Linked DNA regions of Homo sapiens: all the other regions are linked to region 5. The links are contacts of gene promoters, found by promoter capture Hi-C in blood cells and fetal thymus (Javierre and others, 2016). All regions are on one chromosome and are shown on one strand. The core of a region is centred on a gene start or on the middle of the fragment in contact, and the rest is flanking DNA. Distances in the headings are between cores, read along the strand shown. Region 1 has its middle 10 kb from the start of FXYD4. Region 2 overlaps ZNF485 (zinc finger protein 485). Region 3 has its middle 8.7 kb from the start of ZNF239. Region 4 holds the start of ZNF32-AS1 (ZNF32 antisense RNA 1). Region 5 holds the start of BMS1 (BMS1 ribosome biogenesis factor). Region 6 holds the start of HNRNPF (heterogeneous nuclear ribonucleoprotein F). Region 7 overlaps ZNF487 (zinc finger protein 487).

Evidence for each region. The method cuts DNA at HindIII sites, captures the fragments that hold promoters and counts their contacts. A CHiCAGO score of 5 or more calls a contact.
Region 1: a fragment that was not itself captured here is called in contact with the fragment with the promoter of BMS1 in region 5 in 1 of 17 cell types (total B cells); the score reaches 5.2 in total B cells.
Region 2: a fragment that was not itself captured here is called in contact with the fragment with the promoter of BMS1 in region 5 in 1 of 17 cell types (naive CD4 T cells); the score reaches 5.2 in naive CD4 T cells.
Region 3: a contact is called between a fragment that was not itself captured here and the fragment with the promoter of BMS1 in region 5, in 3 of 17 cell types (total CD8 T cells, total CD4 T cells and naive B cells). The highest score is 6.8, in total CD8 T cells.
Region 4: the fragment with the promoter of ZNF32-AS1 here is called in contact with the fragment with the promoter of BMS1 in region 5 in 1 of 17 cell types (total CD8 T cells); the score reaches 5.2 in total CD8 T cells.
Region 6: the fragment with the promoter of HNRNPF here is called in contact with the fragment with the promoter of BMS1 in region 5 in 4 of 17 cell types (naive B cells, naive CD4 T cells, naive CD8 T cells and 1 more); the score reaches 8.0 in naive B cells.
Region 7: a fragment that was not itself captured here is called in contact with the fragment with the promoter of BMS1 in region 5 in 1 of 17 cell types (neutrophils); the score reaches 5.5 in neutrophils.

Annotation. Positions count from the first base shown.
Region 1 is chr10:43,359,690-43,363,414 of GRCh38, forward strand. No RefSeq gene overlaps it. Among named protein-coding and RNA genes, the nearest start is that of FXYD4, 10 kb to the right of the region's middle. RefSeq lists enhancers at 1,901-2,813, 2,411-2,500. The HindIII fragment of the contact is 3,108 bases long and covers 556-3,663 here.
Region 2 is chr10:43,614,733-43,618,750 of GRCh38, forward strand. It overlaps ZNF485 (zinc finger protein 485), which reads left to right. Exons shown (of 5, transcript NM_145312.4): 5 at 1,559-3,172. The coding sequence ends at 2,637. Among named protein-coding and RNA genes, the nearest start is that of ZNF485, 10 kb to the left of the region's middle. The HindIII fragment of the contact is 2,517 bases long and covers 45-2,561 here.
Region 3 is chr10:43,581,331-43,585,241 of GRCh38, forward strand. No RefSeq gene overlaps it. Among named protein-coding and RNA genes, the nearest start is that of ZNF239, 8.7 kb to the left of the region's middle. The HindIII fragment of the contact is 163 bases long and covers 2,217-2,379 here.
Region 4 is chr10:43,642,375-43,646,190 of GRCh38, forward strand. It overlaps ZNF32-AS1 (ZNF32 antisense RNA 1), which reads left to right and starts at 1,498. Exons shown (of 2, transcript NR_047557.1): 1 at 1,498-1,733; 2 at 2,476-2,673. It overlaps ZNF32 (zinc finger protein 32), which reads right to left. Exons shown (of 3, transcript NM_006973.3): 2 at 3,690-3,816; 3 at 1,488-2,427. The coding sequence starts at 3,759. The coding sequence ends at 1,676. All of the region lies in intron 1 of ZNF32-AS3 (ZNF32 antisense RNA 3), which reads left to right. ZNF32-AS2 (ZNF32 antisense RNA 2) reads left to right here and starts at 3,568. Exons shown (of 3, transcript NR_047558.1): 1 at 3,568-3,816. RefSeq lists an enhancer at 3,262-3,816. The HindIII fragment of the contact is 1,613 bases long and covers 125-1,737 here.
Region 5 is chr10:42,780,029-42,784,109 of GRCh38, forward strand. BMS1 (BMS1 ribosome biogenesis factor) reads left to right here and starts at 2,767. Exons shown (of 23, transcript NM_014753.4): 1 at 2,767-2,802. RefSeq lists an enhancer at 2,598-2,947. The HindIII fragment of the contact is 6,696 bases long and covers 1-4,081 here.
Region 6 is chr10:43,406,458-43,410,507 of GRCh38, forward strand. It overlaps HNRNPF (heterogeneous nuclear ribonucleoprotein F), which reads right to left and starts at 2,729. Exons shown (of 4, transcript NM_001098204.2): 1 at 2,674-2,729. RefSeq lists silencers at 699-1,068, 2,349-2,468, 2,919-3,148 and enhancers at 1,239-1,298, 1,439-1,488, 1,456-2,059, 1,499-1,838, 2,569-2,628. The HindIII fragment of the contact is 6,154 bases long and covers 1-4,050 here.
Region 7 is chr10:43,478,960-43,482,975 of GRCh38, forward strand. It overlaps ZNF487 (zinc finger protein 487), which reads left to right. Exons shown (of 4, transcript NM_001355444.3): 4 at 2,470-4,016. The coding sequence ends at 2,963. Among named protein-coding and RNA genes, the nearest start is that of ZNF487, 44 kb to the left of the region's middle. The HindIII fragment of the contact is 5,148 bases long and covers 1-4,016 here.

The DNA of each region.
Region 1 (3,725 bases), core at 860-3,359, 580 kb after region 5:
AGACTCAGTCTCAAAAATAGAAGACTTCCAAGAATAAAAATATATTACTTAGGTTAAGTTCGGTGGGTGACAGAGGAAGGAAATAGACTCAACTCAGGCCAAAAAAAAAAAAAAGGAGGCGGCAATATGGAGTAACTAATATTAAACAAGAGTTAAGTAAATCTTCAAATGGAGATTTGGAATAAAAATAGTATGGTGCAACAAGAGCGAAACTCCATCTCAAAAAAAAATGGTATGTATGGTGTTCAGATTCCACTAGATATATTACAACTCATGTAGCCATTTTACTTTAAAATATAAATATTAAAACATACCAGAAATTGTATCTTTTGCAACTATTTGAGCTTATGATGAGAAACTTTAGCAACATAAAACTGTGGAATGGATATGTGGTTTTTCAGAAATGAGAGCAAACATTCAAAGACTACTCTATTACATAAATACGGGAATAGAAGAGTGGCCCAGAAACGAAATAGCAGGAGCTTCTAGGGTTCAGCAAGAGAGGGCTGAGGGAGACTGCCCAAGAAGGGATTGAAGCGGGGCCTAGAATGCCAAAGCTTGTACTGCACTTTACGTGTGTCACAGGAGGACAGAAAGGGGTGAGTCACAGAGCTGTTTAGGAGGCAGAATGGACAAGAATTGTTTGATTGGTTATGGGGATTTGGAGGCAAATAAAGTCTAGGATGATGCTCAGGCCTTCGGCTTTACCACTTGGATGGAGCACAGAGAGTAGGCGGGGTGGTTTAAAGAAGAAACCAAGTATTTATTTCAGGAAATGTCAAGTTTCAGCAAACTATGAGACATGCATGTGGAGACAGGAGGCAGGCAGTGGGCCTGGTGGTCTCCAGCTAAGGAGAGAGGTCAGAGAGGTGAGTTTCCAGGAGGGAGCAGCCAAATCTCAGAGCCTGCTGAGGGGGTTAAGACCTAATTATCCATCCAAAAGTGTATCCATCCACCCAAATATTACTCAGTTATTTTATTTATTTTTGAGACAGAGTCTCGCTCTGTCGCCAGGCTGGAGTGCAGTGGCGCGATCTCAGCTAACTGCAACCTCCGCCTCCCGGGTTCAAGCAGTTCTCCTGCCTCAGCCTCCCGAGGAGCTGGGATTACAGGTGCGCCACCACGCCCAGCTAGTTTTTGTATTTTTAGTAGAGACGGGGTTTCACCATGTTGGCCAGGATGGTCTCGGTCTCTTGACCTCATGATCCACCAGCCTCAGCCTCCCAAAGTGCTGGGATTACAGGCGTGAGCCACCGCGCCCGGCCAATTTATTTATTTTTATTGAGACGGGGTCTTGTCATTTTGCCCAGGCTGGTCTCGAAGTCCTGGGTTCAAGGGATCCACCTGCCTAGGCCTCCCAGTGCTGGGATTACAGGCGTGAGCCATGGCGCCCTTTCTACTCAAGTGATTTATCAATCATTTTACTCAATAGTTAATTCACACATCCATCCAGTTCCCACAATGAATTCCATCCATGTGCCAAGGTCTCTGGGACAGGAAGCTGAGTGACCTGAAATCACAGCCCTGGGAGAAAAGGGAGGTGAGTGGTCAAGACAGATACACCCATACCTGTGATGTGGGGTTTGGGAAAGGTGGGCCTCCCAGAGGGGAGGCAGGTGAACAGGAAAGGTGGCTTCCCAGGTGAGGCAATTGTTGAATTGGACAGAGTGGAAATGGCTCACAGTGGTCCTTGGGAGAGGATGAGAATTAGGATGGAGAGAAAAGATTGAATACGTGAGATATGGAAGAACTAGAAGGATGGGCTCTCACTGGGGGGGCGGGGGGGACAGGGAACCGAGTTGCCTAACTTCCCTTTGGTGGAGTCAGACTGTATGCTGAGCGCTGTGACTTTGGACCACTGTCCATGTCCTTGAGGGGGTCATATCCTGAGGAGCTGGCACACATTTCAGCAGATATCTCCATATGACTGGGTTTAGTGGTGGCCTGTGGGACCACGTGGGAAAGAGACCCACCTGAGATGGGAAATTCTGAAAGGTCAGAGATGGTGGGGGAACGGAAAAGTTTAACAGTTGTTGACTGTGAAGTGCCTGCAGGAAATGAAAGGGAGGTGCCCAAGAGCTAAGAAGTCTGGTATAGGAGAAGCATGAGTAGGAGCTGCAACAGGGGGCTAAGAGGTGACCTGTGCAGTAGAAGGAAAGCACTCGCGTTCTCCCAGGTGCGGAACGAGCAAACGTTGATGACAAATGACTTTGCCTACCATCTTGAACCCTTTCGGCTTCTCTTCTTGCACAGGTCTTCATTCTCACCCTGCTACACAGCCCCTACCAGAACGTTCTGAAATGCAAACCTAACAACTGTCTCACCCCAGCAGGAAACTCCCCAGGGTCCCGGGCCCCCTGCGGGGTTGCAGGCCTCACTCTTCGCGCCCATCCCTCCGCCCTGACCGCCCTGAGCTCGCCCCCAGTGCTGGCCCTTCACGTCCAGTTATCCCTCCCAGCCTCCAAGGTCCCCGTTACCGAAGACCGCCACCATCACGACATAGCGCAGCACATATGGGTAAACAAATGGACTGAGACTCAAGCAAAGAAGTAACCCGAGACGCGCGTTACACGGAAAACGACTGCGCAAGCGCGGTAGAGCAGGGGCTTGCAGGTGAGTGGGAGCAGCCAATCCACGCGAAGGGGGTCGGGACCACTTCCGCGGAGGAAAGCCCCGCCCACACCTCCTGGGCCCTCGCCTCACTGGCGGTTTCTCCCGCGAGCCAGCCTCATAGACATTCCTTGGTGCTGATTGGCTGGCGGCCAGCGCAGTCCTCCTTCCTCTGGCTCTCTCGCGGCCCCTTGCGGGAAGGCCTCCCAGAGGCCGTGGGGTCGTTTCTGGCGGCCTAAGTGGGCCTAACTTTTAGAGTCCCGAGGGTCGTCGCTGCCGGGGAGATCTCCGCCCCATTTCCGTGCCGCCTTGTCCTCAGGGCCCAAAGCCCCCTGCGCTAAGGGCCCTGTCCCATCTCTGCCCTACACGCGGGAGTCAGCCTAAGGCGGAGCCCTAGGACAGCAGCCGCGCCTGACGCTGCTCGCCTGCCTAGCACAGGCAGGGGGTGAGCGGAGTCGGCTGCCTCCCTCCCCAGGGCCCTCCAAGGGAGTGGGCTCCACATCCATGGGCCCGAGGAATCTGCGGAGAGACGGGAAGAGCAGGGGACACTCACAGGGCGGGGGTCCAGGCGGGAGTCCAGTAGTCCTCGTGGAGACAGCTGGGAAAGGCCTCGGGGCAAGGGACCTCGGATTTCCTCCTCTGCCTCAAAACAGACAGTCTAAGCTGGGTGCGGTAGCTTGCGCCTGTAATCCCAGCACTTTGGGAGGACGAGTTGGGTGGACCACCAAGTCAAGAGATGGAGAACCATCCTGGCCAACATGGTGAAACCCCATCTCTACTAAAAATTAGCCGGGCGTGGTGGCGCGCGCCTGTAGCCCCTGCTACTTGGGAGGCTGAGGCAGGAGAATCGCTTGAACCTGGGAGGCAGAAGTTGCAGTGAGCCGAGATTGCGCCTCTGCACTCCAGCCTGACAACAACAGAGCAAGACTCCGTCTCAAAAAAAAAAAAAAAAAAAATGACCACGCACAGGCAGCAAGGGGCAGGGGGTGGTCCACGCTCAGCCTTCAGTACACATTTGTGGAATTAATCCCTCCCAGGACAGGTTGTGAAGAAAGCTTGTTAACCTCAAGATTCAGAAGCACCGTTCACAGCACAAGCTTTGGAGTCAAATTCAG
Region 2 (4,018 bases), core at 53-2,552, 830 kb after region 5:
TTTTCCCGAGATCATGAAGATATTCTTCTGTGTTAATTTCTAGAAGCTTTATTATTTGGTTTTTATGTTTACATTTACCATCCTCTTAGAATGGATTTCTGTGCATCATATGAGTTAGGGTTTATATATTTTTTTTCTCCTAAAATGTACTAATGCAGAATCTCCTCTTCCTCACTGCTTTGCAAGACCACCTTTGTCATAGAAGAAGTGCCCATATGTGTCTTCACGTTGCCAGCTTTACAATCAGTATCTTGAAATTTTCTCTAGTTTGATCATAATACATTAAACACATATCCCATCAAAGGCCATTGGAAGAATGTGGGCTGTTTCTGACTGGGCTTCACCTTCAACTTACATTTCCTTGAAAAAATAAGTCTTAGCTCTAATATCCATTGCATGGAATTTCTCCCCAGACTACTAAGTATAAATACATATAAATATATGTATGTGTATATATCTTTAGGTATAGATAGATACAACTTATGTTTATAAGAAAAGCGCATTTAGTAAAATAATTGGTTGGTGATTGTTAATTTTACTACAAGTTTGGCTCTATTAGTTTTTCAGAACGTTTTTGTCTGAATCATTTCGCTCTGTCTGTCTTAGGTCTTGTGTCTGTACTTTGTAAAAAGCTAGAGAAAATTCACATAGTACACCCATTGATTGGTAATTTTTTTTTTGTTTTTTGAGACAGAGTCTTGCTCTGTCACCTAGGCTGGAGTGCAGTGGCATGATCTCAGCTCACTGCAACTTCTGCCTCCCGGGTTCAAGCGATTCTCCTGCCTCAGCCTCCCGAGTAGCTGGGATTAAAGGCATGTGCTACCATGCCTGGCTAGTTTTTGCATTTTTAGTAGAGACAGGGTTTTGCCATGTTGGCCAGGCTGGGCTCGAACTCCTGACCTCAAGTAATCCACCCGTCTCGGCCTCCCAAAGTGCTGGGATTACAGGCATGAGCCACCGTGCCTGGCATAGGTATGTTGTTTTTTAGATATGTTAAAAATTTAGTTTATAGTAAAATCTTATTGGCCTGAGAACTATTTTTGTTCCTTGAATATTTTTTCTGTTTTCTTTTTTCCACTGAGCAATTAAATATTGGTTCACTCTTAAATCCTCACAGAGAACTATTTTTCTCAAGTTCTTGGTGACATCATAATGTTCTCAAATATACCACCTGCAGAAATCTGCCCTAGTAGTAATTATAGCTTGCTTTGTGACTCTGGGCTTTCTCCTCAATTTTGTATTTATTCTCACATTGTCTTTTTTCTTTTTTAGCTGTTTCCTGTGTTGTCTTCCTAACTTGGCAACTTCTTAGGGGCTCACTGCATTCTTTAAATGCAATGTTTATAGTACAGATTCTTTTCTTTTCTTTAAAATCATACTTCCTTTTCCTGCCCTTAGTCTGGCCATCTTTTCTCAGCAAGAATCACAAGTGGGACACATTAATAATTTTTCATAACCTTTAGTTATGTAGAATAGAACATTATTCAAGTCCTTGCACAACTCTCACTTTCAGCATTTCAACATAAAGAACATTTGAATTTTTAAAATTTTCTTTCAGTCGAGGATTACTGGTTTGAAACAAAGATGTCAGCCCTAAAGCAAAGCACTTCTGAAGCATCTGTTCTGGGAGAGCGAACGAAAAGTGTCATGATGGAAAAAGGCCTGGACTGGGAGGGCAGAAGCTCCACAGAGAAGAACTATAAGTGCAAGGAATGTGGGAAAGTCTTCAAATACAATTCGTCCTTTATTAGCCACCAGAGAAATCACACCAGTGAGAAACCACATAAATGTAAAGAATGTGGGATCGCCTTTATGAACAGTTCATCCCTTTTAAATCACCATAAGGTTCATGCAGGCAAACAGCCTTATAGATGTATTGAATGTGGGAAGTTCCTGAAGAAGCACTCAACGTTTATCAACCATCAGAGAATTCATTCTAGGGAGAAACCCCACAAATGCATTGAATGTGGAAAAACTTTCAGAAAGAACTCAATCCTTTTAAGTCATCAGAGAATTCATACTGGCCAGAAACCCTACAAATGTAATGACTGTGGGAAAGCCTTCGCTCAGAATGCAGCTCTTACTCGTCATGAAAGAATACATAGTGGAGAGAAGCCTTTTAAATGTAACAAGTGTGGGAGAGCTTTCAGGGATAATTCAACTGTGTTGGAACATCAGAAAATCCATACTGGTGAGAAGCCATATCAGTGTAATGAATGTGGAAAAGCCTTTAGGAAGAGCTCAACTCTTATTAGTCACCAAAGAATGCATACTGGGGAGAAACCCTATCACTGCAGTAAATGTGGAAAATCTTTCAGGTATAGCTCATCCTTTGCTGGTCATCAGAAAACTCACAGTGGAAATAAACCGTATCAGTGTCGTGACTGTGGGAAGGCCTTTACAAAGAGCTCAACCCTTACTGGACATCAGAGAATTCATACTGGAGAAAAACCCTATCACTGTAAGAAATGTGGGAAAGCCTTTCGGCACAGCTCAGGCCTTGTTGAACATCAGAGACTCCATACTGGGGAAAAACCTTATAAATGTAATGAATGTGGGAAAGCTTTTCCCCGAAGTTCAGCCCTTAAGCAACATAAGAAAATTCATAATAAAGAAAGAGCCATGAAATGTAGTTAGTGTGGCAAATTGTGCAGAGTAGTTTATTCCTTCTGACCATCATAGAGGAGACATTAAATAAATTATGCATTTAACAGAAATACTCTGTACTTCTGAGAGAACACATCACTTGTGAGGATATTCATTGTGAGGTTCTACTAGTGAAATATTTGAAGAAACTAAATGTATGTCAGTATGGAAGTAGTTATAGCATACTGTGTGCTAATTGAAAAGAATGAGGTGGAGCTGTAAATACTGTACAAAGCCAGGCATGGTGGCATATGCCTGTAGTCCCAGTTACTTGGGAGGCTGAGACAGGATTGCTTAAGCCCAGGAGTTTGAGTCTGTAATGCACTATGATTGTGCATGTGAATAGCCACTGCACTCCAGCCTGGGCAACATAGCAAGACTCCATCTCTAAGTAAAAAAATACAACAGTAGAAATATACCCATGATAATATACCCAATATACCCTTGTTAAAGAAGCAAGTTTCAGGAAATCTATATTATATGCATTCAAAAAGACCTGGACAAATAAAGACCAATCTTAACAGCAGTTATCTCTCTCTCTCTCTCTTTTTTTTTTTTTTTAAAAGAAACTAGCTCTTACTCTGTCACCCAGGCTGGAGTGCCATGTGATCATAGCTCACTGTAGTTTTGAACTTGGGCTTGAACAACCTTCCCACTTCAGTCTCTGGAGTAGCTGGGGCTACAGGCACGTACCACCACACTCAGCTAACAGCAGTTATCTTTGATGAGGATGTAGTATAGGTTGAGCATCCATAACTGGAAAATCTGAAATCTGAAGTGCTCCAAAATCCAAAATTTGTCTGAGCACCAACAGGTACAAAATTCTACACCAGACCTTATGTGATGGGTTGCAGTTAAAATGCACCCCCGGCCGGGCGCGGTGGCTCACGCCTGTAATCCCAGCACTTTGGGAGGCCGAGGCGGGTGGATCATGAGGTCAGGAGATCGAGACCATCCTGGCTAACAAGGTGAAACCCCGTCTCTACTAAAAATACAAAAAATTAGCCGGGCGCGGTGGCGGGCGCCTGTAGTCCCAGCTACTCAGGAGGCTGAGGCAGGAGAATGGCGTGAACCTGGGAAGCGGAGCTTGCAGTGAGCCGAGATTGCACCACTGCAGTCCGCAGTCCGGCCTGGGCGACAGAGCGAGACTCCGTCTCAAAAAAAAAAAAAAAAAAAAAAATGCACCCCCAAGATTCCTTATTATTTGCATGCAAATATTGCAAAGTCCAAAAAAGTCTGAAATCCTAAATACTTCTGGTCTCACGCATTTCAGACAAGGGATACTCGACCTATATTGGTATGATGAAGTGAAATTATGACTTTGACTGAGTTCTTTGAAATGAAATATTTAATCAAGCATCATTCATGTATC
Region 3 (3,911 bases), core at 1,048-3,547, 800 kb after region 5:
TCCCACCTCAGCCTCCCGAGTAGCTGGGACTACAGGTATGTGCCACTACAACAGCTAATTTTAAAAATTTTTGTAGAGATGAGGTCTCACTGTGTTTGTCCAAGCTGATATCGAACTCTTGGCCTCAAGCAGACTTCCCACTTCGGCCTCCCAAAGTGCCGGGATTACAGGCAGGAGTCACTGTGCCTGGCCTGTCTTTCTGCTTTTTTGGTGAAGGTGTTTATTGCTAAAAACTTCCCTCTTAGTACTGCTTTTTCTGTGTTCAATAGATTTTGGTATGTTGTATTTCCCTGTTCATTTGTCCAAGAAATTTTAAATTTTTCTTCCTAATTTCTTCATTGACCCTTTGGTCACTCAGGAGCATGTTGCATAGTTTCCATGTGTTTGTGAAGTTTCTAACATTTCTTTTCTTCTTGATTTCTAGTTTTATTCCATTGTAGTTAGGAAAGATACTTGATATGATTTTTACTTTTTTTTTCTTTTTTTTTTTGAGACAGGGTCTTGCTTTGTTGCCCAGGCTGGAGTGCAGTGGCATGATGATGGCTCACTGCAGCCTTGACCTCCTGGGCTTATGAGATCCTCCCCACTCAACAACCTGAGTAGCTAGGACTACAGGTATGTGCCACCATGCCCAGCTAATTTTAAAATGTTTTGTAGAGTTGGAGTTTCACTTTGTTGCCAGGCTTGTCTCAAACTCCTGGCCTCAAGTGATCCTCTTGCCTCAGTCTCCCAAAATACTGGGATTACAGGTGTAAACCACCACGCCTGGCCCGATTTCTACTTTTTAAAATTTACTGAGGCTGGGCACAGTGGCCATGCCTATAATCCTATCACTTTGGGAGGCCAAGACATGTGGATCACTTGAGGTCAGGAGTTCGAGACCAGCCTGGCCAACATGGTGAAACCCTGTCTCTACTAAAAATACAAAAATTAGCTGGGCATGGTGGCAGGAACCTGTAATCCCAGCTACTCAGGAGGCTGAGGCAGGAGAATTGGTTGAACCTGGGAGACAGAGGCTGTAGTGAGCCAACATCAGGCCACTGCACTCTGGCCTGGGTAACAGAGTGAGACTCTGTCTCAAAAAAAAAAAAAAAAATTATTGAGATTTGTTTTGTGGCCTAAGGTGTGGTCTATTATGGAAAATGTTCCATGTGCTGATGAAAATAATGTGTGTTATGCAGCATTTGGGCAAATGTTATGTAGATGTTACTTAGGCCTATTAAGTATAGTGTGCAGTTTAATTGTGATGTTACTCTATTGATTTTTTTTGTCTGTATGATTTATCCATTACTGAGACAGTCCCCTACTATTATTGTATTGCATGCCATCTCTCCCTTCAGACCTATTAATGTTTGCTTTTTAAACTTGGGAGCTCTGGTGTTGCATGCAAATTTATAATTATTATATCCACTTGCTGAATTGATCCCTTTATCATTATATAGTGACCCCTTTTGTGTCTTTCTACAGTCTTATTTTGTATTCTATTTGATCTAAGTATAGTGAGTCCTGCTGTCTTTTGGTTTCCAGTTTCATGAAGCATCTTTTTCCATCCCTTCACTTTCAGTCTATGCGTGTCTTCAGAGGTGAGGTGGGTTTCTTGTAGTAGCATATAGTTGGGTCTTATTTCTTTATCTACTCAGTCACTCTAACCCTTTTAATTGGAGAATTGAGTCCATTTACATTCTGTTTTATTATTGATAAGAAAGGACTTACTACTGCCATTTTCTTGTTTGTTTTCTGGTTATTTTGTAATTTTGTCTTCCTTTCTTCCTTTCTTGTTGTCTTCTTTTGTGGCTACGTGATCTTCTTTGGTAGTATGTTTTAATTCGTTGTTTTTTTTACTTGCAGTGAATCTATTTTCTTTTTTTTTGCATTGTAGTTCCTGTGAGGAAACCAAAAAATGTATCTTACAGATATAACAAGTTATTTTAAACAGATGACAGCTAAACTTTGATCACAAAGAAAAGAAGATAAACAAAAAAGGAAAAAAAGACCAGTTCTACACTTTAACTCTATCCCCCCATTTTGACTTTTAGTTGTCTGAATTTACATATATTTATATTACTTACCTCTTGACAGGTTGCTATAGCTATTATTGTTCATGACAAATCTATCATGCCTGTTGCGGTAAACTGAGGACCAGAGAGACCGATATGGGGAATACAGGAGGATGTTTATTTAAGGAACTCACCAGCTCAGTGGATTCACATCCAAAAAGCTTCAGGCTGATACCAGGTGTGATTTACAGAAGAGAAAGCAGGAGAATGGATTTGGATGAGGTGATTTGGAACGATTTTTACCTCGCCACAAAGTTTTTCTTAGGTTTTCATTATAATATTGCTGTCCTAAGCATGTTAATTCTCTTACTCGGTCTGTAAAAGCTTTTCCCCAGTAAGCAACACAGTATCTCCTGATAATAGAAGTGGCTTTTTTGTTTGTTTGTTTGTTTGAGATGGAGTTTTACTCTTGTTGCCCTGGCTGGAGTGCAATGGTGCAATCTCAGCTCACTGCAACCTCAGCTTCCCAGGTTCAAGCGATTCTCGTGCCTCAGCCTCCCGAGTTGTTGGGATTACAGGCATGCACCACCACGCCCAGCTAATTTTGTGTTTTTAGTAGAGATGGGGTTTCTCCATGTTGGTCAGGCTGGTCTCAAACTCCTGATCTCACATGATCTGCCCGCCTTGGCCTCCCAAAGTGAGCCACCACGCCTGGCCTAATAGAAGTTTTTAAGAGCCAGACGCTTGAACTTGTGGGCATCGGTTTGGGGGAAAAGTCAGTCAGAGTAAAATTATCTTGTGGCATTGACTCTTTTGCTTCCTAAGGCCACTGGTCTCCCATGTTAGTTCCTCCACAAACATAACATGAGGAAATGCCTAGGCTGCCAGCAATGTTTTCAGCCAACTGAGCAAACAGATTTTTGGCTACAGGAGGAGGCTCTGGTAACTTTTGGTCTACATGCTTATAGAATGACTTAAAGACTTGGAACTGTTGCTGGGCTGGACGGCTCCGGGTTCCTTTTTTGATAACATATAGGTAAGTTGCTGGGTATGTGTGTATGTAGACATGTATGGGGCAACCTGCAGTCCACATGGGTAGGTCTGGCTTTAGAATGGTGAAGTTTACAGGATTACAGGTTTTTGTTTCATAATCTGGTTTACCGGCATTTCAGTAAGCATAATTGGCCTTTGTTGTGTGCTAGGGTGCCATGATATGCATTACTGACAATGTTTTTCTGGGGTCCCAGGGGAACAAGGTGGAGTTGCTCTTGGCATGCATACATATTTGTAGTCATTTCTATAGTATCTTTCTAAAGGTAAGTTACCACAGACAGGTGAGTCTAGGTATGCTGCCTGACAGGCATCAAAGTACAGAGAAATAGGCCCTTGGTAAAAAAGAGGGACCTTGGTCTGGTTTTAAAAGGGGACCTTCCTTTGACTCTGCGTGAATGTCAAACCATTCACCAGGTGAAAATTTAGGGTCATAGTATACATAAGGCTGGCCATCCTCTGGGTCACAGACTGAATAGGTGGTCTGATTGTAAGTACAAGTTCTTAAGTGAGTCCTTGTACACTTATAAGTATGGTACGATAGAGTTATAGTTATACTGTTCCTTGACCAGGTAGTATGTGTACAGTGGGGACACCCTTCTATAGGTGCTTCTTCTAGCATGGTTAAGGGGGGTAACAACAGCAAAACAATGTATGGCATATTCATATCCAGCAAGGACAGAAGAGGGGGAGGAGGTTGAGCACAGCAACAGAACAATAGGAAAACAGTTAGTATTACAAGGAAAACTACTAGTCCTAAGATTTCTAACCACCTTTACTTGCTTGATGAGTCCTCAAGCTTCAGCCATGTATAGACTAGTCAGCTTCCGGTGTATGACTAGAGCAGGGCTTGTTGTCTCCTCA
Region 4 (3,816 bases), core at 248-2,747, 860 kb after region 5:
GGGATTAAGGAAGCAATAATTTATAGCAGGGGGTTCCCAACCCTGGGCCATGGATCAGTACCAGTCTGTGGCCTGTTAGGAACTGGGGCACACAGCAGGAGGTGAGTGGTGGGAGAGCAAGCGAAGCTTCATCTGTATTTACAGCTGCTGCCTGCTGCTCACATTACTACCTGAGCTCTGCCTCCTGTCAGATAGTGGCAGCATTAGATTCTCATAAGAGTGTGAACCCCATTGTGAACTGTGCATGCAACGGATCTAGGTTGTGCACTCCTTATGAGAATTTAATGCCTTATGATCTGTCACTGTCTCCCATCACCCCTAGATGGGACTGTCTAGTAGCAGGAAAACAAGCTCAGGACTCCCACTGATTCTACCTTATGGTGAGTACCTTATAATTGTTTCATTATATACTTCAATGTAATAATAATAAAGTGCACAATAAATGTAATGTGCTTGGATCATCCCAAAATCATCCCCCTCTGTGGGAAAATTGTCTTTATGAAACTGGTCCCTGGTGCCAAAAAGGTTGGGGACCACTGATTTATAGGATCCACTAGAAAGGATGGAATGGTGTCTTACCAAGAAAACCAAAATCTCTATCATTCATCATTTCACTTACATAAATGCTCAGTATGAAAAATTATAGAGATGGCTAAGATTTTAAAAAATGGAAATGGAAATTTCCCCTCAAAACCAATTTCTCCTCTGCAGCCTTCTTCAAATCTCATCCCCTGGAGGTCAGAAAAAAGGATGGGTTAGAATTCCAAATTTCTTGGTGTGTGTGCAGGAGGAAGAGGATAGTATTGTTGGAAAGTGGAAGTTCATTATTGACTACAAACTACAAGTCTGGGTTCAGTAATAACACTTATATCCTTTCTAGATAACCCAACCCCAAGATATTGCTGCTGTTACCAAAGAGGGAGTGAAGGTCTCTGAAAATGTAGGAGTCCCTTTAGTAGATGGGGAGAAATGGGTTAAAGATTTTTAAAAATTGCACAGACAGTAGTTGTTTGCTCTTTGGTTACAGGTGAATTATCTCTATCCTAGTTAGGAGTGGAGGACTGAAGTATGTCTCAATGCACAAACTAAGGCTGTGCAGGCTTGGAAAGAAATTTTCTTTTGTAATAAAAGGCTAGGCCCCTTGCTATAGACATGAGTGATTAGTTACAATAGGTTATTGGGGGTATCATCCAGGTAATGAAATGTTCAACAAGAAGATTATAAAGGTAACTAGATTTGCCCCATGGATTTTGCCCAGTGGTTTTGAAGGCAAAACAAGATTAATTTGAATATGTAAGGAAGAAAAATAACTTGGGATTGATGAGGGGCTGATTTTTTACATTTATAAAAGCCTGATGGTGTCAACTACAAATTTAAAATCTGTATTGGGTATACACAGAACAATCTCTAGTGTGGCACCAGATTAATGGGGGTACCTTGAAAAATCAGGTCAGAATAAAGTGACAGAAATTATAAAACATACATGATAATGATAATAAACAAGACATTTATTTTTCATACTCTTTTGGGGGAAAGGAAAAAAATCAGTTTGCCCTACCCAATGATGGTCTTTCTGAAAGATTCTCCATTCATTCCATAGAACTGGATAGGTTGCTTCATCTCAGAGGATTTTGTACTCTTAATTCATAAAGAGAACTTCTCTTCAGGAAAGTGGTCAAAGGGTGAGCCTCTGTGAGCAGCTTCGCTGGTGCACAGCCAGACTCCCTCTCTGGGTGAAGCTTTTTCCACACTGGCCGCACAGATAGGGTGTCTCTCCTGTGTGGATTTTGCCATGCAGAATACAATTCCCCCTGGTGTGGAAACTCTTCCTGCACTGGGTACAGGCATAGGGCTTCAGGCCTGTGTGGACTCTGATGTGAACAATTAAGCTTCCTTTCTGACTGAAGGCTTTTCCACACTGATCACATCTATAGGGCTTCTCACCACTGTGAACTCTCCTGTGAACAGCAAGGTTACTCTGATTCCTGAAGCTTCTCTGACAAATAGCACACTCGTAGGGTTTCTGTCCAGTGTGGAGTCTCTCGTGGACAGCGAGACTACCTCGTTGACTGAAGCTTTTCCCACACTCCTTGCACTGATAAGGCTTCTCTCCCGTGTGTATCCGTTGATGTGTAACAAGATTGCCTTTGGCCCTGAAGCTTTTTCCACAGTGGGTGCACTCAAAAGGCTTTTGACCAGTGTGGATTCTCTCATGTAACGTTAGACTACCTTTTTGCCGGAAGGATTTTCCACACTCCTGGCACTCATAGACCCTTTGTCTCACTCCAGGTGAATCTTCCTGTAGTGTCTTCGAATCTGGGGATTTTTGTTCCAGCTTCTCTCTTCTGAAAGAATTTTGGATATCCCAGCTTGAGGATCCTGTAGCCTCAGAGTGGTCATATTTGTGGTGGGCTTCAGTCATCACATCTGATAAAATGAGAGGGAAGTCATATAAGAAGCACCAATAATGCTGAGTTAGAATAGGGAAAAAGAAACATAATACTTTGAGTGCTTATGATGTGCCAGGCCTTATTCTTTGCATAGACAATGCAATCCTGAAAACAATGCCATGAGAGTGATACAGATAATGGGAGCAAAGGGAGCCTGTCAAAGGTCACAGAGCTAGGTAAGTTAGAGCTGACTCAAATAGGCATTCTCCATAGCAGTGTACTGCCTCTAAATTTAATTTAGGCCAACAAATAACCTTGTAAGATAGACATGGTTTTCTCTATTTTACAGGTCAGAAAACAGGCTCAGAAAATTTAGAAAACTATACAGAATCACACAGAGCCCCATACCCAACTTTTATCTGACTCCAAAACAGGTGTGGATCCAGGCTATATAAGGCCTAAAACTTTCCCATTTTAGAGGCACCCTTTTAAGAAAATGTATAAAATTAAGCACAGGGTCTTGGAGAGACCAATCCAAGTGAGGGGTCCTAAAACTGAAGCTGCATTTGCTTCTTCAGAAATCCACCTCTGTCCAATCTGTTCTGACAATAGAATAAGCACCATGACCTCAGAAAATATGTAGCACAATCCTGGGTACTTTACATCTATCATTGCTAATCCCTGCAACCCTACAAGATAGAACTTATTGTCCTATTTTACAGACGAACCTGGAGCTTAAGGAAGTTAAATAACCTGTCTGATACTGCAGATCTAGCCATGGCAATTATAGAATCTGATCCAAGGAATTTTTCCCATTAAAATCCTTGCTATTTTCAGTCTACTAAGCTATGGCAAAACTGAAATCAATTTTGGTTTGGAAGTTATTCTCTATGCAGATATTGACTTTTTTTTTTCCGAATACTGCCCTGCATCTGAGCCTCCTGGTGCACTTTAAATATGGGTCCATTCATCACCATTAACAGTTTTCTTGGTGTCTGTCACTCCAGGGTAATCTTCTCCTTGTTCCCTTGCCTTATTCAGAGACAGTGCTGAGATTTAAGCTGCTCATTCATTCTCAGAGACTACTTCAACGCTACCTCCATATCAAGATGGTTCTCTTGCTCTGTTTCTACTATTACTTCTAACTCCAGCTCACAGGCTTTTCTTATAACCCTAGGAACAGCAAGCTCTACCAAAGCAAGGTCTCCTCTGCTTCCTCAGACTGCCGACCAGTGCTGAGAACAGGGACACTGAATATCTGTGAGCTGAGCGCATCCAGCCATCAACTGACTCACTCACTGAAGAACGCTACATTCTGGGCATATCTTCCATGACAGTCCAGCAGGGTAGCTGTTGGAAATCCAAACATGTCCACTCCTGCTTACGACCTCAGTCACCACCTCTTCATATGATTCTTCCATGGGCT
Region 5 (4,081 bases), core at 1,517-4,016:
TGTCTTACATGGCTGGAGCAGGAAAAGGTGGTGGGGGGAGGTGCTACACACTTTTTAACAACCAGATCTTGTGAGAACTCTATCATGAGAACAGCACTAGATGAATGGTGCTAAACCTTTCATGAAGACTCTGCTCCCATGATCCAATCACCTCCCACCAGGCCCCACCTCCAACATTGGGGATTACAATTCCACACGAAATTTGGGCAGGGACAGACCCAAAACATATCAATAACTGATACAGATGGCATATAAAACTGAGACAGAATTAGATCATCCAGGGAATAAGTATAGACACAGAAGAAAAGAAAACTGAAGCCCGAAACCTATGGCCTCACTCTAATTTAAACAGGTGAGAGCAGGGGAACCAGCAAAAGCAGCTGAGAAAGAGCATCCAGGGCTGCAGGTGGAGTCCTGTGAGACAAGTGAATCAAAGTGAATAGGAGAGGGGCCAGAGTATGTATTGACTGTTCTTTTGTGAAGTTTTGCTGCAAAGGGGAACATAGAAAAGGTGCAGGTCCTGGTATAGGAAATAGGGTCGAGTAATTTCTTTGTTTTGAAGATGAGAGAAATAGCTGCATGTTATGTGACGATGAGAAGAGTCCAGTAGAAAGGAAAATATTGCTGATGTTGCAGAGAGGATAGGCTGGCTGGAGTGACACCCTGGAGCAGTAAGAGATGATGGGATCCAGCAGTCCAGTGCAGGATTCTTTGGGTGGACCTAGCAGTTGTTCATCCACAGTCACAGGGAGGCAATAAGAGGCGGATGGGTGGAGGTGGACGTGGGAGTCTGTGGAAGACTTTTACCACTTCTATTCTCTTAGCAAAGCAGGAGGCAAGGAAGGGAGAGGCAGTGGGAAGGATTGAACAGAGAGGAGGAAGTGCGAAATACTCACTTGGAACAATGGGAGATTGAATAGACCAGGCAAAGAATGATTAAAGTGAGGACGGCTGGCATGGTCCTGTTTTCCTCCAGCCATGTTTAGTTGCATCGTCGTGGCATGGAATAGATGGAGAGCTGGGTTTATCCAGGGCTCCCATCTTACCAAGCAGATAGGAGATGACAGGGAGGTGCATGAGTTGAGGAGGTGTGCAAGGGATCAATGAGAATGGTTGGCCATTGAGTTTAAGCTGGCTCACTAGAGAGGGTCATAAAGGAAGAAACAGTGAACAAGTAGTAAGATCTTGATTGGAGGTGCTGGTAAGGTTGCAGGAGTTTTGTTTCAGGGCAGTATAGGGAGTGACCTGGACAGATAGGAGGATAGATAGACCTGGTCAGAGTGGGATACTGTGGGGGTTGCAGTCCTTGGACCTGACAAGGTCTAAGGTCTGATCATGGAGGGAGGGGGAAGCTGAGGTAGGGCAGAGGACAGGAGTGGGCTTCATGAGACCAAAAGGATGTTGGAAGGATTATCTACCTGGATACTGAAATCTTCAAGAAGTAAGAGGTGTAGTGTGAAGAAGTTACAACACTCTAAGCTCTTCAGGGATAAGGGAAGCATGTGCCACGTGGGTAGCCTCCCAAGTCCAGCACCCAGTATCTAGAATATGCAGAGTGAATACCTGGGGGCTGCTGAGGGCAAGAACAAGGTGCCTGTGAGAAGACCTGACGCCTGGGGTTCTCGTGACAGGAGTGGGCCTAGTTTTTGGTGTAGAATTGAGCCTTGAATGCACCAGCGGGATCATATTGAAAAGAAACCCTCCAAGACTAAAGGAAGATGCATCCTCTGACAATGTACGCTCTGTAGGCTCCCAAGTAGCTGGGCTGGGGATTAGATGGACTCCAAGGCATTTCCTCAGGTGGCAATGGGCGGATCCCTGGGAAGGTAAAGCTGTGCAGTAAGAAAACGGCAAGATGCTACGTTCACTCAGGTAAAGCCCCTTTCCCGGGTTTAGGGAGGGCGAGGCAGTTTAGGCTGGGTCAGTTTGTCCCTGCCCTCACGGTTTGTTGGTCCTGGCAAAAGAGGGCCTTATGTTATTTATTTTTCTTAGAGACAGTGTCTTGCTCTGTTGCCCAGGCTGAAGTCCAGTGGCTCATCTCAGTTCACTGCAGACTCCGCCTCCTGGGATCAAGCGATCCTCCCACCTCAGCCTCCAGAGTAGCTGGGACCACAAGCACCACAGGCGCCCGGCACGATGCCGGCTAATTTTTTTTTTTTTTTTTTTTAAGAGAGAGAGGTAGGCTCCCTATGTTGCCCAGGCTTGTCTTGAATTCCTGGGCTCAAGCAATCCTCCCTCCTCGGCTTCCCAAAGTGTAGGGATTACAGGCGTGAGCCACTGCGCCCTGCCAAAAGAGGGCTTTAGGGCACCCCAGAACGCGAGATCCCCCTCATCTGTAATCTTTAAAGAGGAGGAAGTGTACTCCAAATCAAGCGATAGTCCATTCGTCCTTGGCACGGTGACTGCCGGGAGGCCAGGACCAAATGTGTCTCCTTCCGGCTTTTGCACCACACTAACTAACCGGCGCCAGGCCGCAGAGCCGCCCTGGCCTTCGGCGAGAACTCAGGCGAGCGCGGCGCACGCTGCTCCGGAGTCCCACCGCGGAAGTTGAGGCCGCGGATTCCGAGGGCGGGGTGGAGAGGAATCTGGAAGGACCTGGACCCGGTGGAACGCACTGCGCGGACGGCGCCTGCGTCCGCACTCAGCTGTTCAGCCCTCTTTCTTCAGGCTCTCCCCTGAAAGCCGTCCCCATGCCGGTCTCTTTTTTCTGCCTTCTTGTTTCCCTCCGGCGAGTCAGCGCGACTGTGAATTTCCGTTTCCGGCGGTGTCCATGCTGACCTGAGGAGTCGCGGCTGCGAGCAGGTTCGGTGCTGCGGGTTGGGGTAGGCGGCGGTGGGGTCCCTGGTTCTGGGGCACTGGGAAGATCGCGAGTCGTGCGTGTGGGAAGGTCCTCCCCCGGTCCTCCGGGTCATCTTTGCTCCCGAGGAGCGGCATATTTCTCATCTGGCGGAGGTGTCCTGGGGTAGTTGGGTGAGTGACGTGATGAATCCCTGCAGAGAGCCCAGACGGGGAGGGAAGGTGGCTGGGCGACGTCGTTTCCTGGCGACGTGGTCCCGGTAGGAGACTTAGACCTGAGCTGGATCTGTTGACCCCAAATTGTGCTTTTCCCACCAAGAAGAAAGACAGGGAGAGAAACATTAGTACAAGTGCTGAACTAAAATATAGCAGAGAAGAAACATAATCTCTGAAATCACACAGCTATTCGGTTTCAAAGCGTTCCTAGCGCCCAGCTCTCCTAACTCCTGGCCAGTGTTCTTGACATTATGGTAATACATAAAGACTTTGTTTCCGCTGGTGTGTGTCTGTGGGAAGCCTCTGACTCACCTCCGTGCTCCAGTAGCACCCTGTGCAGCCTTCCAATGTCGCCCTTATTGCGTGGCGCGGAAGATAATAGTTTGGATTTCCTCTGCAAGTCAGATAATAGCTGTATCCACTTACTGGCACAGTGCCTAGCACATCGTAGACAGACACAAATATTTATTCAACGGAATGAATACAGTACCTTAATTGAATGAAATGGCATCCTGCTCCGCTTTTTTTTTTTAATCAAGCTGTCAGATTTTATGCAGCCCGATTTCCTAAAATAACTCACTAATTCAGTGATTGCCAATTTATTAGCCACAGATTCCCAGGTAACTCAGAAATCACTGGAAGGGTCTCTGTAAGTTCATGGGGTCTCCAGGTGTCATCTAGAACCAGTCCTATCTCACACGTACAGCTATTTCTATTTTTCAAATGTATGTAGATAAGTTGTAATTTAGGAGTTTTACAGAGTCAACAGGTACTAAAAGTAATACTGCGATCATATTGGAGGTTCATAAAAACGTTTCACATTTTTTTATTAAAATTTAAGTTTTAGTTTAAGTTAGGAAACCACTTCATCAGTCCAGTTGATACCTGGGTCTGAGCTGTCCAGTATGGTAGCCACATGTGACTATTTGGAGTTAGAATGAAATTAATTAAAAACTCATTTTTTCAGTTTCCCTAAGTATATTGTAAGTAACCACATGTGGCTAATGGCTAAATGGCTGAAAAGTACAGATATAGTATATTTCTATCCTTGCAGAAATAGATACTGCTG
Region 6 (4,050 bases), core at 1,479-3,978, 630 kb after region 5:
CAGAGGCGTGAGAATCGCTTGAGCACAAAAGTTTGAAAATCAATCTGGGCAACATAAGGAGACCCCATCTCTACAAAAAATACAAAAATTTGCCGGGCGTGCTGGAGAGTGCCCGTGGTCCCAGATACTCGGCGGCTGAGGTGGGAGGATCCGTTGAGCACAGGAGGATCTCGGCAGCGAGCCGAGATCACACCATTGCACTCCAGCCTGGGCAACAAAGTGAGACCCTGTCTCAAAAAATAATACATATTTTTTTATAGAGACGGGGTAGGTCTCTGGGGCCCAAGCGATCCTCCCACACCTCGGCCTCCCTAAATGCTGGGATTACAGGCGTGAGCCACCTCGCCCGGCCGATAATGACTCTAATCTACAGAATGCACACCGGAATGTAATACCTACAAGGGAAAAGATCTTCTTGCTTAGGAATAAAGCAATCTCTCTCTTAATATTCATTAAAGTAGTAATGTCTTATTTTATAGTTTATAAATTCTGTGAGAGCAACGAGTCACTTTGCAGGAATAGCACTTAAGGTATCTTTCACCTACCTGGAGAACCCAAGAAATTTTCATCTTACTAGGAATTCAGAGACAACCACGTATTTAACTTTTAAAAATATAACTAAGTAGAAAGAATTATATGCGTGTATTTTTGGAAGAATTAAGATGACTTTTGGGACGGAACGACTGAAAACTACGCTTTCAGAACTCCCTGCCGCCTGAGGCTGTGGCCCTGACCCCGGCGCAGGGCCCGCCCCGCGCGGTTCCGGGAAGCCGCCGCCGCCGCCCGTTGCCCTTCGCGCGCAGCCGCCAGCGCGCGCCTCGCGTCCCGCCACGCAGATGGCCGGCCCGAGCCCCCAGCGCCCGCGAGCAGTTTCGAGAACTAAAGAGGCGCGTCAGCTCGTCCCCGGGCCGCCCGCGGGCAATGGCCGAGCTCGGCTCTCCTTCCACCCTCCGCCGGGACACACGCGGAGCCGAGCGGGGGTCCCAGGCGCCTAGGGGGAGGGGTTCCCGCGCCCGGGGCGGCCTTGGGGGGAGGGCGAGTCGGGTGCCTTGCTCCTCAAAACCCTGGTCCACGACTCTGCGGTTGGGGGAGCCGGGCAGCCGGCGCAGCAGGAGCCGGGCCCCGTCCACAAGTTTCCTACGAGCAGGGCGGAATCGACGAAAATACTTAATACAAACAAACAAAAGGAAAAAAAAAAGGACGACTAAGCTGAAGAGCGCGCACGAGTCAGATTTTCACCCCAAATACAAACACGATACCTCTAGGAGCAGGAGACCAATACAGGGACCGCGCTCCGAGGACACGCGGCGCAGCCGAGGAGGAAAAAGGGCCCGGGGCCGAGAGCTAAGGCTACGGGAACCGGGCGTGGGAGGAGGGCGGAGCCAACTCCCCACAAGGAAGTCTTGTGCAACTCTCAGGCGCCTGCAGCCACGTGAGCGCGCGGCTTTCATTTTACTCAGGTATTATTACTATTATTACTTCTTTTGAGACAAGGTCTCATTTCCGTCGCCCGGCTGGAATGCAGTGGCACAATCACTGTCACTGCAGCCTCGACCTCAGAGCAAGCGACCCTCCCGCCTCAGCCTCCCGAGTAGCTGGGACAACAGGCGCGCGCCACCACACGTGGCTAATTTTTTTTTCTTTACTTTTCAGTAGAGACAGTCTATGTTGCCCAGGCTTGTCGGGAACTCCTGGGCTCAAGAGATCCTCCCGGCTGGGCCTCCCACTGCGCCAGGCCTGTTCTCACTTTCAGAGCCCTCCGGCAGTCGCCAGCTCCCCGCCAGGGGGCCGGACTAACGCACCCGGCCGTCCGTGCCTTCCCCGCGCTTTCCTGACTCCAAAATCTCAGCCCGCGGTGCTCACCGCGTGGGACCACTGTCTGGGCGTGCGGCTCTCGACCTCCGACGCTGCGTCTCCCGATCCCAGTGGGTCCAGTTCTTGCCGGTCCCACGTACGGGCCCCTCGACCTCGAATCCCGTCACCCAAATCTCAGCGCCACGGCCCCTCATTATGTGCAGTCCTCGCTCGGTCCCAGGTTTGCGGCGCTTAAACTCAGATCGCTCTTCCCTGATCCCAAATCCCAGCCCCAGCCCAACGATCCCCACCCCAATAGGCCCAGTCCCCAGGTAGTCCGGGTACGGGGCCCTGGACTTCGGATAGTCTCCCTAATCTCAAATCCCACCCCCCGTCCCCACCCCCAGGGGGACCCGGTCCCCGCTAGGTCCCGGGTGTGCGGCCTTCGACCTCGGAGACTTCGGCCGCCCCTCACCTCGGCCTCCGAGTCTCTACACTCCCGCTCTCATATCAGGCACCCCGGTGGTCCCTTGGAGCACCTAGAGGAGGGTGGGACGCGGGGAACTTGGCAGTTGTAGCAGAGGCAGTTGAGGCTTGTTGACCATCACCATGGAAACCCCCGCCTGCGAGCACGGGGCGGAGCCTACGAGGGGCGGGGTCAGGCGCGCTGCCGGCCCCAATCCTCAGCGCCTGCCCGTCGAGCGCACGCGGCTTTGCCGGAAGCCCTCCTGCTCCCGGCGAGCCAGGCCCCGACTAGGCCCTACTGCCCGGCTCAGCCCTTTGCCCTGGACACCAGGAAACAGAAGCCCAAGGAGCCCGCGTCCCCACCCCCTGCTACCTGCCGGCGTGACAGCGATTCGGTGGCCCCCCGAACCCCACCTTGAGGAAGACGCGGCGCAGTCCTGCTTCCACGACGGAGCCGGAAGGACGCAAGGACCGCGGCAGGGCGGAGTTTCTGCGTCCGGCGTCCGGGGGCGGGGCCGCGACGGCGCATTGTGACGCGCCAGAGCTGAGCCGCCGGTTGGCCGGCTGGGCGCGGAGCAGAGCCGACACGGCTGGCGGGGGAGGCGGTGGAGGCGGACAAGCGAGGACGTTTCTGGAGAGGAGAAGGGAGGGGAGGGGAGGGGATAGGGGGAGGGGGAGGAGGAGGAGGGAGTGGAGCGGCGGGAAAGATCCCTCTGACTGCCCCTGAGGCCCTGGAGGAAGGACACTGGTGAGCCCCGCAGGACACTGAAATGTGCGCCGAAAGGACGCCTGATGGAAGACTAGGATGGGAAAAGGAAATGAGAGCCGATGGCAGGGCGTGGTGGCGCAAGCCTGTGGTCCCAGTAATTTGGGAGGCTAAGGCGGGAGAATCGCTTGAGCCCGGGAGGTCGAGGCTGCAGTGATCCGTGACTGCTCCATTGCGTCCAGCCTGGGCGACAGAGCGAGGCGCTGTCTCAAAAAATAAAATAAGGAAAGTAGTACACTGAAGGCCGGGCGCGGTGGCTCACGCCTGTAATCCCACCACTTTGGGAGGCCGAGGCGGACGGATCAGGCGGTCGGGAAATCGAGACCATCCTGGCCAACATAGTGAAACCCCTACTAAAATACAAAAAAATTAGCCAGGCGTGGTGGCGCGCGCTTGTAGTCCCAGCCACTCGGGTGGCTGAGGCAGGGGAATCGCTTGAACCCGGGAGGCGGAGCTTGCGTGAGCCGAGATCGCGCCACTGCACTCCAGCCTAGCGACAGAGCGAGACTACGTCTCAAAGAAAAAAAAAAAAAAAAGGTACACTGAGTACTCCGGAGACCGCCTAAAGGGGTCTCAGAGCAGGGCGTTAGGAGGGATTTGTCAGGTTGAAGTTGCTCAGGTGATAAATTCCGTGGTGTGAGAAGCCCCCAAACCTCAGAATGTAACTCAGACCCAGGTCGAGGGCAAGATTTTCAGTCACAGAGCACCTGAACACACAGATTTGGTGGCTAATGGCTAAGCCAGGGACAGATTTTCTTTCTTTTCTTTTTTTTTTTGATGTATTGTAGGGCTAATAATTGTAACCATTTTATTTTGGTGGATCTTCTTCATGAAGAGATGATGTCAAGGCACTCATCACAGGTTAAGCTGAACATTGTTACTATTGTTATTATTTCCAGACTGAGTATCGCCCTGTCATTCAGGCGGGAGTGCAGTGGTACAATCACGGCTCACTGCAGCCTCGACCTCCTGGGCTCAAGCGATCCTCCTGCCTCAACCTCCTGAGTAGCACCACCACTCTCGGC
Region 7 (4,016 bases), core at 229-2,728, 700 kb after region 5:
GCAGTAGCCGATCTCTTTTGATCCTATCTCAAAAAAATTTTTTTTCTAACTTAGATAAACAAAGAGAAAATTTATATATATATATATTTGTGTGTGTGTGTGAATATATGTATGTATGTATGTGTGTATATATATATACACACATATATACACATATATATGTGTGTATATATATATATAAATTTGTACTGATGAGGTCTTGCTGTGTTGCTCAGACTGGTCTTGAACTCCTGACCTTAAGCAATTCTTCCACCTCTGCCTCCCAGAGTGCTGGTTTAGAGGCTTGATCCACTGTACCTGGCCTACTTTTATTTTTTAATTGAATGAAACTCATTCTGTTTTTGCTGTTATCATTTGAGTGAATTGGTCCCATTTATAATCTAAGAAGCATGATACTATTTTAGTGATCTATTTTTCTTAAGTTTGAAACATTTTGGTATGTTATTTCTTAGCAATTATTTCAACATTACTCATCAATTATGTCCAACTGTGGTAAAATAAACTAAAATAGAAAAGAATGATGGAATTGCTTGTAAGGATAATAGAATAGTAAAGAACACTGTCACTATTACATCATCCTTCAATTTTCTTATTGAGCTGCTTGAAGCATTACTTGTGACAAAAATATAAAAGAAGCCTGGAGAAACCTTATTTGTAGTTTCTTTCTTTTTTTTGTTGTTTTTATTTTATTTATTCATTTCATTTTGAGATGGAGTCTCACTCTGTTGCCCAGGCTGGACTGGAGTGGTGTGATCTCATCTCACTGCAACCTCCGCCTCTCGGGTTCAAGTGACTCTACTGCCTCAGCCACCCGAGTAGCTGGGACTACAGGCACCCACCACTGTGTCCTGGCTATTTTTTATTTTTTTGTATTGTTACTAGAGACGGGGTTTGCCGTGTTGGCAAGGCTGGTTTCAAACTCCTGACCTCAGGTGATCCTCCTGCCTCGGCCTCCCAAAGTGCTGGGATTACAGGTGTGAACCACTGCACCTGACTCTCTTTCTTTCTTTCTTTTCTTTCTTTCCTTCTTTCTTTCTTTCTTTCTTTCTTTCTTTCTTTCTTTCTTTCTTTCTTTCTTTCTTTCTTTTTCTTTCTTTCTTCCTTGCTTCCTTCCTTCCTTCCTTCTTTCTTTTCTTTTCTTTTCTTTTCTTTCTTTTCTTTTTTTTGAGATGGAGTCTTGCTCTCTTGCCCAGGCTGGAGTGCAGTGGCACAATCTAGGCTCACTGCAAGCTCCACCTCCCAGGTTCAAGCCATTCTCCTGCTGCAGCCTCCTGAGTAGCTGGGATTACAGGTGCGCACCACCACACCCAGCTCATTTTTGTATTTTGAGTAGAGACAGGGTTTCACCATGTTGGCCAGGCTGGTCTCGAGCTCCTGACCTCGTGATCCACCCCCATCAGCCTCCCAAAGTGCTGGGATTACAAGCGTGAGCCACCGCACCTGGCCACTTTTTATTATTATTTTTTTATTTTTTGAAATGGAGTCTTACTCTGTCACCCAGGCTGGAATGCAGTGGCATGATCTCGGCTCACTGCAACCTCTGCCTCACGGGTTCAAGCGATTCTCCTGCCTCAGCCTCCCGAGTAGCTGGGATTACAGATGCACACCACCACACCTGGCTAATTTTTGTATTTTTAGTAGAGATGGGGTTTTGCCATGTTGGCCAGGCTGGTCTGGAACGCTTGACTTCAGGTGATCCACCTTCCTTGGCCTTCCAAAGTGCTGGGATTACAGGCGTGAGCCACTGCGCCCACCTCTCTCTCTCTCTCTTTTTTTTTTTTAATAATTCAATGGGCACAGTTGAGAGTTCAGAGCTTTTATTTTCTTCCATTAATTGCAAAGAGTAGAAAATTGACAAGAGGAAGACTCTTCACAATTATTAGGCAAATCAGAAGATGAAGCAGAACCACTGTAGACTCTAATAATTACAGTATAATTGATCGCATAAGTGAAATCTCAGACTATGAGTTAGATGATGATATTCTAGATGAATAAAGGTATGCATATGATCCTGTTATAAGAACAGCCTGGGCCGGGTGCAGTGTCTCATGCCTGTAATCTCAGCACTTTGGGAGCCGAGGCAGGTGGATTTCTTGAGCCCAGGAGGTCAAGGCTGCAGTGAGCTGTGATGCTGCCACTGCATTACAGCCTGGGCAACAGGAGTTTGACACCAGCCTGAGTAACAAGGCAAAAAACTCCATCTCTACAAAAAATACAAAAAATTAGCCAGGCATGGTGGTACATACTTGTAATCCCATTTACTCGAGAAGCTGAGGTGGGAGCATCACCTGAGCCTGGGAGGTTGAGGCTGCAGTGAGCCATGATCACACCACTGCACAATCCAGCCTGGGTGACAGAGCCAGACACTGTGCCAAAAAAAAAAAGAAAAAAAAAGCATGTGAATATGTCTCTTTTTCATGAAAAATATGTTAACATTTATAATCTGTGATAACTTATTATTATTTCTAGACTGCTGCATAGATGATGACCTGATGGAGAAGAGACAGGAAAATCAAGACCAGCATTTGCAGAAAGTTGATTTTGTCAACAATAAAACACTGACTATGGACAGAAATGGTGTATTAGGAAAAACATTTTCTCTTGACACAAACCCCATTCTATCAAGAAAAATACGTGGCAACTGTGACTCATCTGGAATGAATTTGAATAATATTTCAGAATTAATTATTAGTAATAGAAGCTCCTTTGTAAGGAACCCTGCTGAGTGTAATGTACGTGGGAAATTTCTCCTCTGTATGAAGCGTGAGAATCCTTATGCCAGAGGGAAACCTTTGGAATATGATGGAAATGGGAAAGCCGTCTCTCAGAATGAGGACTTATTTAGGCATCAGTATATTCAAACTCTTAAGCAGTGTTTTGAATACAATCAGTGTGGGAAGGCTTTTCATGAAGAGGCAGCCTGCAGTACCCATAAGAGAGTGTGCTCATGGGAGACCCTGTGAATATAATGAACATGTGAGAGCCTTTTCCGATAGACCAATATTCATTGTTCATCAGAGAACTCACATAAGGAAGAGTCACCATGAATTCAATGAATGTGAGAGGAGGTCTGGTGAGAGGCCACCTGTAAATAAACACCACAGGGTTATGGAGATGAAATACTATGAGTGTAATGCGAGTGAGAATAGTTTTGGCAAGAAATCACTCCTCATTCTACAAAGTTACAGAGGAGAGAAAACTTGACTGTAGTAGACATTTGGAAGTATTCTGCAAGAAGCCAAATTTCACTCAACATCAAGAAACACATATAGGAAAGAATGCCTATAAAATTAATCAGTATGCTAGTACATTTTGCTGTAAGCCAAAGCATTCTGTATATCAGAAAACAGATACAGAAGAAAAACTCTATGAATGTAGTGAATGTGGGAAAACCTTCAGCCATAAATCCTCTTTTATCCTACAGCAGAGGATACACAGAGGAGAGAAACCCTATGAATGCACTGAATGTGGGAAAACTTTTGGATATAGGTCATGCCTTGCAGTACATCAAAGAACACACACGGGACAAAACCTATGAATGTAATGAATGTGGAAAAAACTTCTGTGAGAAGTCAAATCTTCATGTACATCAGAGAACACACACAGGAGAGAAACCCTATGGATGTAATGAATGTCAGAAAGCCTTTGGTGATAGGTCAGCTCTAAAAGTACATCAGAGAATACATACTGGCGAGAAACCCTATGAGTGTAAGGAATGTGGGAAAACTTTCTCCCAGAAGCCAAACTTCATTAATCATCAGTGAACTCACACAGGAGAGAGACCCTTTGAATGCAATGAATGTCAAAAATCCTTCTCTGTGAAGTCAAAACTTAGAGAACATCAGAGAATTCACACAGGGGAGAAACCCTATGAATGTAATGAATGTGAGAAAATGTTCTACCACAAGTCATCCCTCACAGTACATCAGAGAACCCACACAGGAGAGAAACCCTATGCATGTAGTGAATGTGGGAAAACCTTCTACCAGAAGTCATCCCTCACAACACATCAGAGA